Regions from separate parts of the Homo sapiens genome. Here region 1 is linked to region 2. The links are contacts of gene promoters, found by promoter capture Hi-C in human tissues and cell types (Jung and others, 2019). All regions are on one chromosome and are shown on one strand. The core of a region is centred on a gene start or on the middle of the fragment in contact, and the rest is flanking DNA. Distances in the headings are between cores, read along the strand shown. Region 1 has its middle 41 kb from the start of PAX7. Region 2 holds the start of ALDH4A1 (aldehyde dehydrogenase 4 family member A1).

Evidence for each region. Contacts are between HindIII fragments. The study calls those that stand out against the background at their distance.
Region 1: a fragment that was not itself captured here is called in contact with the fragment with the promoter of ALDH4A1 in region 2 in 2 of the 25 tissues and cell types used here (adrenal gland and mesendoderm cells).

What each region holds. Positions count from the first base shown.
Region 1 is chr1:18,587,399-18,591,399 of GRCh38, reverse strand. No RefSeq gene overlaps it. Among named protein-coding and RNA genes, the nearest start is that of PAX7, 41 kb to the left of the region's middle. The HindIII fragment of the contact is 9,422 bases long and covers 1-4,001 here.
Region 2 is chr1:18,900,911-18,904,826 of GRCh38, reverse strand. It overlaps ALDH4A1 (aldehyde dehydrogenase 4 family member A1), which reads left to right and starts at 2,272. Exons shown (of 15, transcript NM_003748.4): 1 at 2,272-2,365. The coding sequence starts at 2,304. LOC124903866 (a long non-coding RNA gene) reads right to left here and starts at 2,714. Exons shown (of 2, transcript XR_007065519.1): 1 at 2,575-2,714; 2 at 1,456-2,017. IFFO2 (intermediate filament family orphan 2) reads left to right here. Exons shown (of 9, transcript NM_001136265.2): 9 at 1-547. RefSeq lists enhancers at 1,219-2,036, 1,976-2,205 and a silencer at 2,286-2,505. The HindIII fragment of the contact is 12,356 bases long and covers 1,342-3,916 here.

The DNA.
Region 1 (4,001 bases), core at 590-3,089, 310 kb after region 2:
GCACTCCAGCCTGGGCAACAAAGCGAGACTCTGTCTCAAAAAAGAAGAAGAAGGAGAAGGAGAAGGAGAAGGAGAAGGAGAAGAAGAAGAAGAAGAAGAAGAAGAAGAAAAAACGAATTAGCTGGGTGTGGTGGTGCACACCTGTAGCTGCAGCTACTTGGTAGGCTGAGGTGGGAGGATGAGGCAGTCCCAGCTACTTGGTAGGCTGAGCCTGGGAGGTTGAGGCTGCAGTGAGCTGTGATGGTGCTGCTGCCCTCCAGCCTGGGTGACAGAGCAAGACACTGTTTCAAAAAAAAAAATTGTAAAAAAAGAGCACATATTTTTTTAAACTTTTTTTCCCATTTTTTTTCATTATTTGTCTTTACATATGTTTTGATTTACATTACAACGTGAAAAAATGCTCATCATCACTGGCCATCAGAGAAATGCAAATCAAAACCACAATGAGATGCCATCTCACACTAGTTAGAATGGCGATCATTAAAAAGTCAGGAAACAACAGATGCTGGAGAGGATGTGGAGAAATAGGAACACTTTTTCACTGTTGGTGGGACTGTAAACTAGTTCAACCATTGTGGAAGACAGTGTGGAGATTCCTCAAGGATCTAGAACTAGAAATACCATTTGACCCAGCCATCCCATTACTGGGTATATACCCAGAGGATTATAAATCATGCTGCTATAAAGACACATGCACACGTATGTTTATTGCAGCACTATTCACCATAGCAAAGACTTGAAACCAACCCAAATGTCCATCAACGATAGACTGGATTAAGAAAATGTGGGATATATACACCATGGAATACTATGCAGCCATAAGAAAGGATGAGTTCATGTCCTTTGTAGGGACATGGATGAAGCTGGAAACCATCATTCTCAGCAAACTATCGCAAGGACAAAAAACCAAGCACTGCATGTTCTCACTCATAGGTGGGAATTGAACAATGAGAACACTTGGACACAGGAAGGGGAACATCACACACCCGGGCCTGTCGTGGGGTGGGGGGAGGGGGGAGGGGGGAGGGATAGCATTAGGAGATATACCTAATGTAAATGACGAGTTAATGGGTGCAGCACACCAACATGGCACATGTATACATATGTAACAAACCTGCAGGTTGTGCACATGTACCCTAAAACTTAAAGTTATATAAAAACAAACAAATAAATAAAAACAGACAATACAGGATATTAGTTTGATGCAAAAGTAATCGCGGTTTTTGCCATTAAAAGTAATGACATTACTTTTAATGGCAAATTACTTTTAATGGCAAAAACCGCGATTACTTTTGCGCCAACCTAATAGAAATGGGAAAGGTGTTTCCTTTTGGGAGGAGAGGTATGATCACCAGGAGGAGAAGGAGGAGGGCTCTGGGGAGCTGGTCACGTTCCGGTTCTCAATCTGAGTAGCTATTTCACGGGGGTGCTTGCTTTGTGAAAATTCACAGTGCTGTTCCTTTATGATTTGTGACTTTCCTGTATACATGTTCTATTTCAATAAGCATTTTAATTAACAAAATTACTAAAAGGCAGAAGAATGTGAACAAGTGGAAAGATACATCGTATTGTGGCGGAGGGGGGGAGCGGCGGGGCTCAACACCGTGACATTTTAATTCTCTCTCAGCTAATTGATAAATATACTTTGATTCTGATAAAAAATATCCACAGTTTTTGTTGAATGAGGCATGCTTATCCTAAAGTTCGTATGAAAAATTAACCAGTAGGCATAGACAGGAAAATTCTGGAAAAAGAGGGTGCTCGGGGGAAGGACCAACCCATATTATGAAGCCTCAATCATTAAAACAATGTGGTTTTGACCCGTGAATAGTCAAGCAGACAATAAAATAAAAGAAAACTCAGAAATAGGCCTACATTAAATGGACAGTTAGTAAGGTTACCATACCAAACCAGCAAAGAAAAGCTGAATTATTTAATAAACGGTGTTGGACAACTGGAAAGACACCTGGAAAAAAAATCTGGATTTCTACTTTATATTTAAAATAAATGTTGAAGGAATCAAAAATTTAAGTGTGAAAATGAAGCTTAAACATTTTAGAAGGAAACATCAGAGAGTTTCTTTATGACTTTTAAATGAGGGACTTTCTAATTATGACTCAGAAATCTAGAAGCTATTAAAAATGGATAATTTACTTATTTTTTATTTTTCTTTAAAGACACGGCTTCATTATGCTGCCAAGATTGGTCTTGAACTCCTGGCCTCAAGCGATCCTCCCGCCTCAGCCTCCCTTGTAGCTGGGACTACAGGCATGTGCCACCATGCCTGGCTAATTTTTATTTATTCATTTATTCATTTATTGTAGAGATGGGGCAGTCCTAGGTTGCCCAGGCTGGTCTTGAACTCCTGGCCTCAAGCGATCCTCCCACCTCAGCCTTCCAAGTAGCTGGGACTACAGGTACGCACCACCATGGTTGGCTGATCAATTTACTTCTATAAAAATTGGCTGGGCGCAGTGGCTCACACCTGTAATCCCAGCACTTTGGGAGCCTGAGGCAGGCAGATCACCTGAGGTCAGGAGTTCGAGACCAGCCTGGCCAACATGGCGAAACCCTGTCTCTACTAAAAATACAAAAGTGGCTGGGCATGGTGGTGCAGGCCTGTAGTCCCAGCTACTAGGGAGGCTGAAGCAGGAGAATTGCTTGAACCCAGGAAGCGGAGGTTGCAGTGAGCTGAGGCGCGCCACTGCACTCCAGCCTGGGCGACAGAGCTAGACTTCGTCTCAAAAATAAAAAAATAAAAAATAAATAGATAAAAAAATAAAAAAAAATCTGCTTGTTAAAAAAAAAAATCCCATCATGAGCAAAGTCAAAAAAAAAATGACAATCTGGGACAAAATGTTTGTAACTCATATCAGAGGTAAAGGGTTAATCTCCCTCCTGAAGAACCTAGGGAAATTGATGAGAAAGTCAAACGACCCAAAATAAAAATGGGCAAAAGCTGTGAAGAGATAATTTAGAGAAAAGAAAATCCAAAAGTGCTTGAAGATAGGAAAAGAAGTTCAGCTCACCCATAGTAAGATCAATGCCCATTAAAGCTACAGACACATGTCACGTTCCCTGATCAAACTGCCAATCATCCAAATGTAAAATGACGCCTTCTGTTGGTGAGTGTGAGGGAGAAGTAGACATTCTCCTATGTCACCGCGGGGACAATGTCTAAGGGCACCTTGGCACTATCAATCAAAGTTTCAAACGCATGTTGTCTCTGACCGAGCGACTCCCCTGTGGGAATTTATCCTATAGAGATACTTGCACGTGTGAAATGACAACTGTATATAAGGCTGTTCATCACAACAATGTTTAGCAAATGGCTAAAAACAGCCCATGCCCTGCAATAAGGGGCTAGTTAATTCAATTATGGTCTGTCTAGACCACAGAATACCATGGTTAAGAGAAAAAATTAGAAGGAGAGAGACAGTGTGTTCAGTGTTTTACATTTTGTATCAATAGAGGGACAACCGAGACTCTATATTCTTATTTGCATGGAGATGCAGAAAAAAATGCTGGGAAGATACAGAAGAAAGCATGAACAGCGGTCACCTGTGGGGTCAATGCTGAGAACTGGGCAGATGAGGGACAGAGGTGGAAGGAGGATTTTTACTTCATATATTTTGATGTCTTTTGGTTTTTGAAGCACGTGAATACATTAGCTATTCAAAAATTAAAATGCAACAAAATGAAATTTAAAATAAAACTGCCCAAGGATGTACGTTATGCCTTATATACTTGTCTCTGTTCCTGAACACACCCTCTGTGACACATTTAAAACGCTAAGCCTTGAGAGTGGTTTTTTTCTGTCTCAGTTAGCCTCCTTCCCACCAGCTGGAAATCCTCATCCATTCCAAAGAGGCTTCATGAATTAACCAGAGATCCAGCTTCTGATGTCCTCTCTCATTCCTTCATTTCTTGGGCATCTCCACCTCCTTTCCCTGCCCTCATCCCCATTCTCAGAATCCGCCTTTTAGTCCCCATGGGATACA
Region 2 (3,916 bases), core at 1,023-3,522:
CCCCCCAGGGCCCTGGGGGGAGGGATCAGGGTGCTGGGGGTTTCCTAGGACAGGGGTCTTCCCCCTTGAGACACCAAGCTCTGGCTCTAGAAGAGCTCTCTCCTGGAGTGGGGAGTCTGGAGGGGACTGGGTGGGTGCAGGTAAAGCCAGATTCTCTCTGGAAGGGAATTTTCTATGAATGGATGATTTCCAGGCTCAGGGTGGGCTGTGTGTTAGTTCTGAGCAAATCCCTCACCAAGACCCTTCCCTCCCAAGCCCTCAAAGAAATGAGGCAAAGCCCTTCCCTGCAAGACCCCTTGTGGATGTTTTTGCATCTACCTGATTTTTAGCCCCACCCAGGGAGACTTTATACCCCATGATCCTGCCCCACCGTTGCTGTTGTCTGCCAGCTGGGTCTAGCATCACAGGGAAGGGGGGGATTTATACTCATGGAAAGACTACTGATCCTACCGGAAACCAACCTGTTTACTGTACTGTTGTAAATATCATGCCCTTTATATCCTGTATATTGGCTTCTTTTAAATAAAGTGAAATGTCTTAGAACTGATGGTGCTTTTTTTTGTTTTTGTTTTTAAACAGAAGATGAATCTGGTGTTGGGGGAGGGGTAGGAGGACGGAAGGCCACAGAAACCCTCAAACTCATTAGTTAATTAGCCATAAAATAGGGGATTTCATATCACCTGTTACATTTGTAGCTCACAATAAAAGCTTTGGAAGATGACAAAGCAGGAATCATTACACACATTTTACTGAAGGGGAAGAGAGGACATGAGACATCACAGGCTCAGTAACTGGCTTGGCCTGGTTTGGAACTGATGTCCTTTTAACCACAAAGCCCCCATTTTTCCAGGCTCTCCAACGTGCCCACAGGAGGTCACCTTCCCAGGCTCTGGATTTGACAGTAACCAATGTTCTAGTTTTTCTTGTCAATGGGCATGTTCAGGGCAACATTGCCCAAATGTGAACTGAGCCCACCTGTCTAGGGTTTTCTCCAAAGGTGAAGACAAATAGCCGCCACCAATTCCAATTTGCTTTTTGCCATTCCTAATACTTGGCATTTAGGTAATCTCCCTCTCCTACTCTTCATTTAAATGTTTACATTCTCCCAAAGTACCTCAAATGGTGTAATCTGGAGAAAAATAAGTGGCTTAAGATCACGGGGGCTTTGTGAGTTGGGTACTATTACTTCCGTTTTACAGATGAGGAAACTGAGGCCCGGAAAGGATATGTAGTCTGCCTAGTGCCCTGCTTGAGGAACCAAAATCAGCATGGGAACTGACTCCTAAGCAGGTGCGCGGTTCATGCTGCTGGAAGAAATATAAACAAATTAGAACAGAGAGTAAGGAAACGTAACATTACTTTAGGAATAGATTGGGTCCCTGAGACCTCGTCATCAGAGAAGACTTCAGAATCCAAGTTTTAAATAGCATTCTAGTGTTTACCAAGCACACAACATTTTGCAAAGAAAGCTGAAATTTTTACTTGGGGGTAAAAGGCTCAGGAACAACTGGTTTTGCGGCCAAAGGCTTTAAATGAAAAGCTAAGCGTTGGCCAGCTCAGGTTTTATCTTGCATTGATCGTAATCTGCAAGGAAGCTAAGAAGCTGGCCGGCCCCGCGCCTGGAGGGTAGGTGGAGAGCGGCTGGGTCCTGGCCAAGAAGCTGGAAGGCAGGCTCATTCCAGGGGCCGCAGCCCCCGGGAAGAAGCAGGGGGCTGGCCGCGCTGTGGCCCTGCGGGGTCGAGGAGTCTGGTAGCGGACAGGTTTCCAGCCTTGTACAAGCCACCGGCAGCCCGAGAGAAGTCAGTCGGACTCCCATCGAACCCGGGGCGCACGCCAGAGGGCCGGACGCAGCGAGTCCTTCTGCCCCGCTTCAGCACGTGTCCCATTTCGGTTATCTCATTGGCTCTATTCAGCCCCTCTCTGCTCCGCTTTGGAAGGCTGCCGCAGGACCGCCCCGCTGATTGGTTCAGAAGCTTTGGTGTGTCACTCTGACTGGTCGACAGAGTTCACGCCCTCTCTCCCGGGTCATACCATAAAGAGAGGAGGGGAAAACGCATGCATTTCAGGACTTCGCTTTCGGGTTCCCTTGTCCTGTGTTGTGTAATGCCCCCGTTATGGCACTAGAAATATTTTTTATTAGCCGAAGCTAAATATAGTGGGACTTTGGCTGATCCCGAGCTCGGAGGACAGCCGGGGTGATCCGTTTCCCCCCGAGGATCGAGGTGGTGCGCTCTGGACGGGGTTGTGCATTCTCGCCGCGCCCGGGCGGACGATCCAGCGAACAGCCCCGCTTCTAACCCGAGATGCTGCTGCCGGCGCCCGCGCTCCGCCGCGCCCTGCTGTCCCGCCCCTGGACCGGGGCCGGGTGAGTGAGCACGGGGCCCGGGGCGGCCCGAGCGCGCGCCTGGGGCCCGGGAGCCTGAGAGTCACTGGGCGTCCCCCGCGCCGCACTCCCTCCCTGCCGGACCCCCAAGCTGCCTCGGTCAACGCCGGGTTCCTCAGGGGCTCCCCTCCGACCCCCACCCAGGCCTTTCTCCCACTGAGATCCCTTAGCCTCCTCCCTCAGGTAGTCACCTTCCTTTAGCGAGGGGACCCCTCTTCCCGAATCCTGCGACCGAGTAGGGTGCCTCGGTGGCCCTGCCGGTTCCCACGCTCGGAAAGTAGCCTCTGTAGTCACTCACCTCACTCCTAATACTGGATCTTCGCAATTTGCTGGCTTCCCCTGAGGGGCCCTTCTATTTTTAGCACACCACACATCTCACTTCCCCACCCTCGTCTCACGTTCAGTGTCCCCATCCCGCCCCGGATTCCCCGAGTCCTCTCCTTCTACCAGGATTTCTACCTCTCTCTTTTCCGCTCCCCACACACCCCGCCGCCCGTTTTTTTTTTTTTTTTTCAAGTTAAATGTTGGACAGAAAAAAGGATTCCTTTCTTCTTGTAGGTGGAATAATCATATTTATAGAGTGCTTATAATGAACCAAATGCTGGCCGGGCAATTGGCAGGTGTCTTATGAGGATTAAATGAGTTAATACATGGGGAGTGCACTGAACAGTGCCCAGCACAAAGGCAGCGCCCGGTTATTATTATTGCCACGATCATCATCATTATCACCTCTATTTAAACTTCTCACTCCTGTGAGGCAGGTCATTATTCCAAATAATGAAGAAACCCAGGAGCAGTTCAGGGGTGGACCTGCCCTTCAAATCCCGATTTGCAAACCTGACATTGTGGAGCCAGGTGCCTGGACCCTTGCCCACTCAATGACAAATATTCTCAGAGCCCCTCCAGCTCGGAGCTAGGTTTGGAGAGGTAGGTGGGACACAGACCCTGCCCCAGAGGGGTTCCTAGTCTGGTGGGGCTGCCCACCTGTGGATCAGCCCCCCCTCCCATTTGAGGTTTGTTTGCTTGACCCCTGGGGCTGTTAGTGGCAGTGTCTTTCCTGATGAGCTGTGCCCTTTCTGAGTTAATCAGTGGCCCTCTCCCTTCCCCCAAGGGATGGCATGGTGGTGCTCTGAGCACAAGTGAGTTGCAACACTGCTGTGTGTCCTCTGTGGGTGAAGAGGGGATAGGAAAGGGCGCAGGAAGAGGACATGGGACAGAGGGGTTCCTCTTCTAGGCTGAGACTGGGGCCACACTTGCCATACTCCCTGTGTGATCCCGTTTGCAGGCCTTCCCTGCACTCTGAGACTCAGGAAGATGGAGCTTATAGAGTCCTGTGTTTACTGAGTGCCTACTGTGAGCTGGTGCTCTGCCAAACACCCTAGAGATGAGGGGTACCCAGGGAATTTACATGGGGTGGGGCCTTTGAGGAGTTTTCGGCTTAATAGGGGAGAAATGCATAGGAAAACCCTCCAATATCTAGTAGAAAGCAATCCATATTCTAAAAGATAAGCCCATGATAACAATAATGATTAT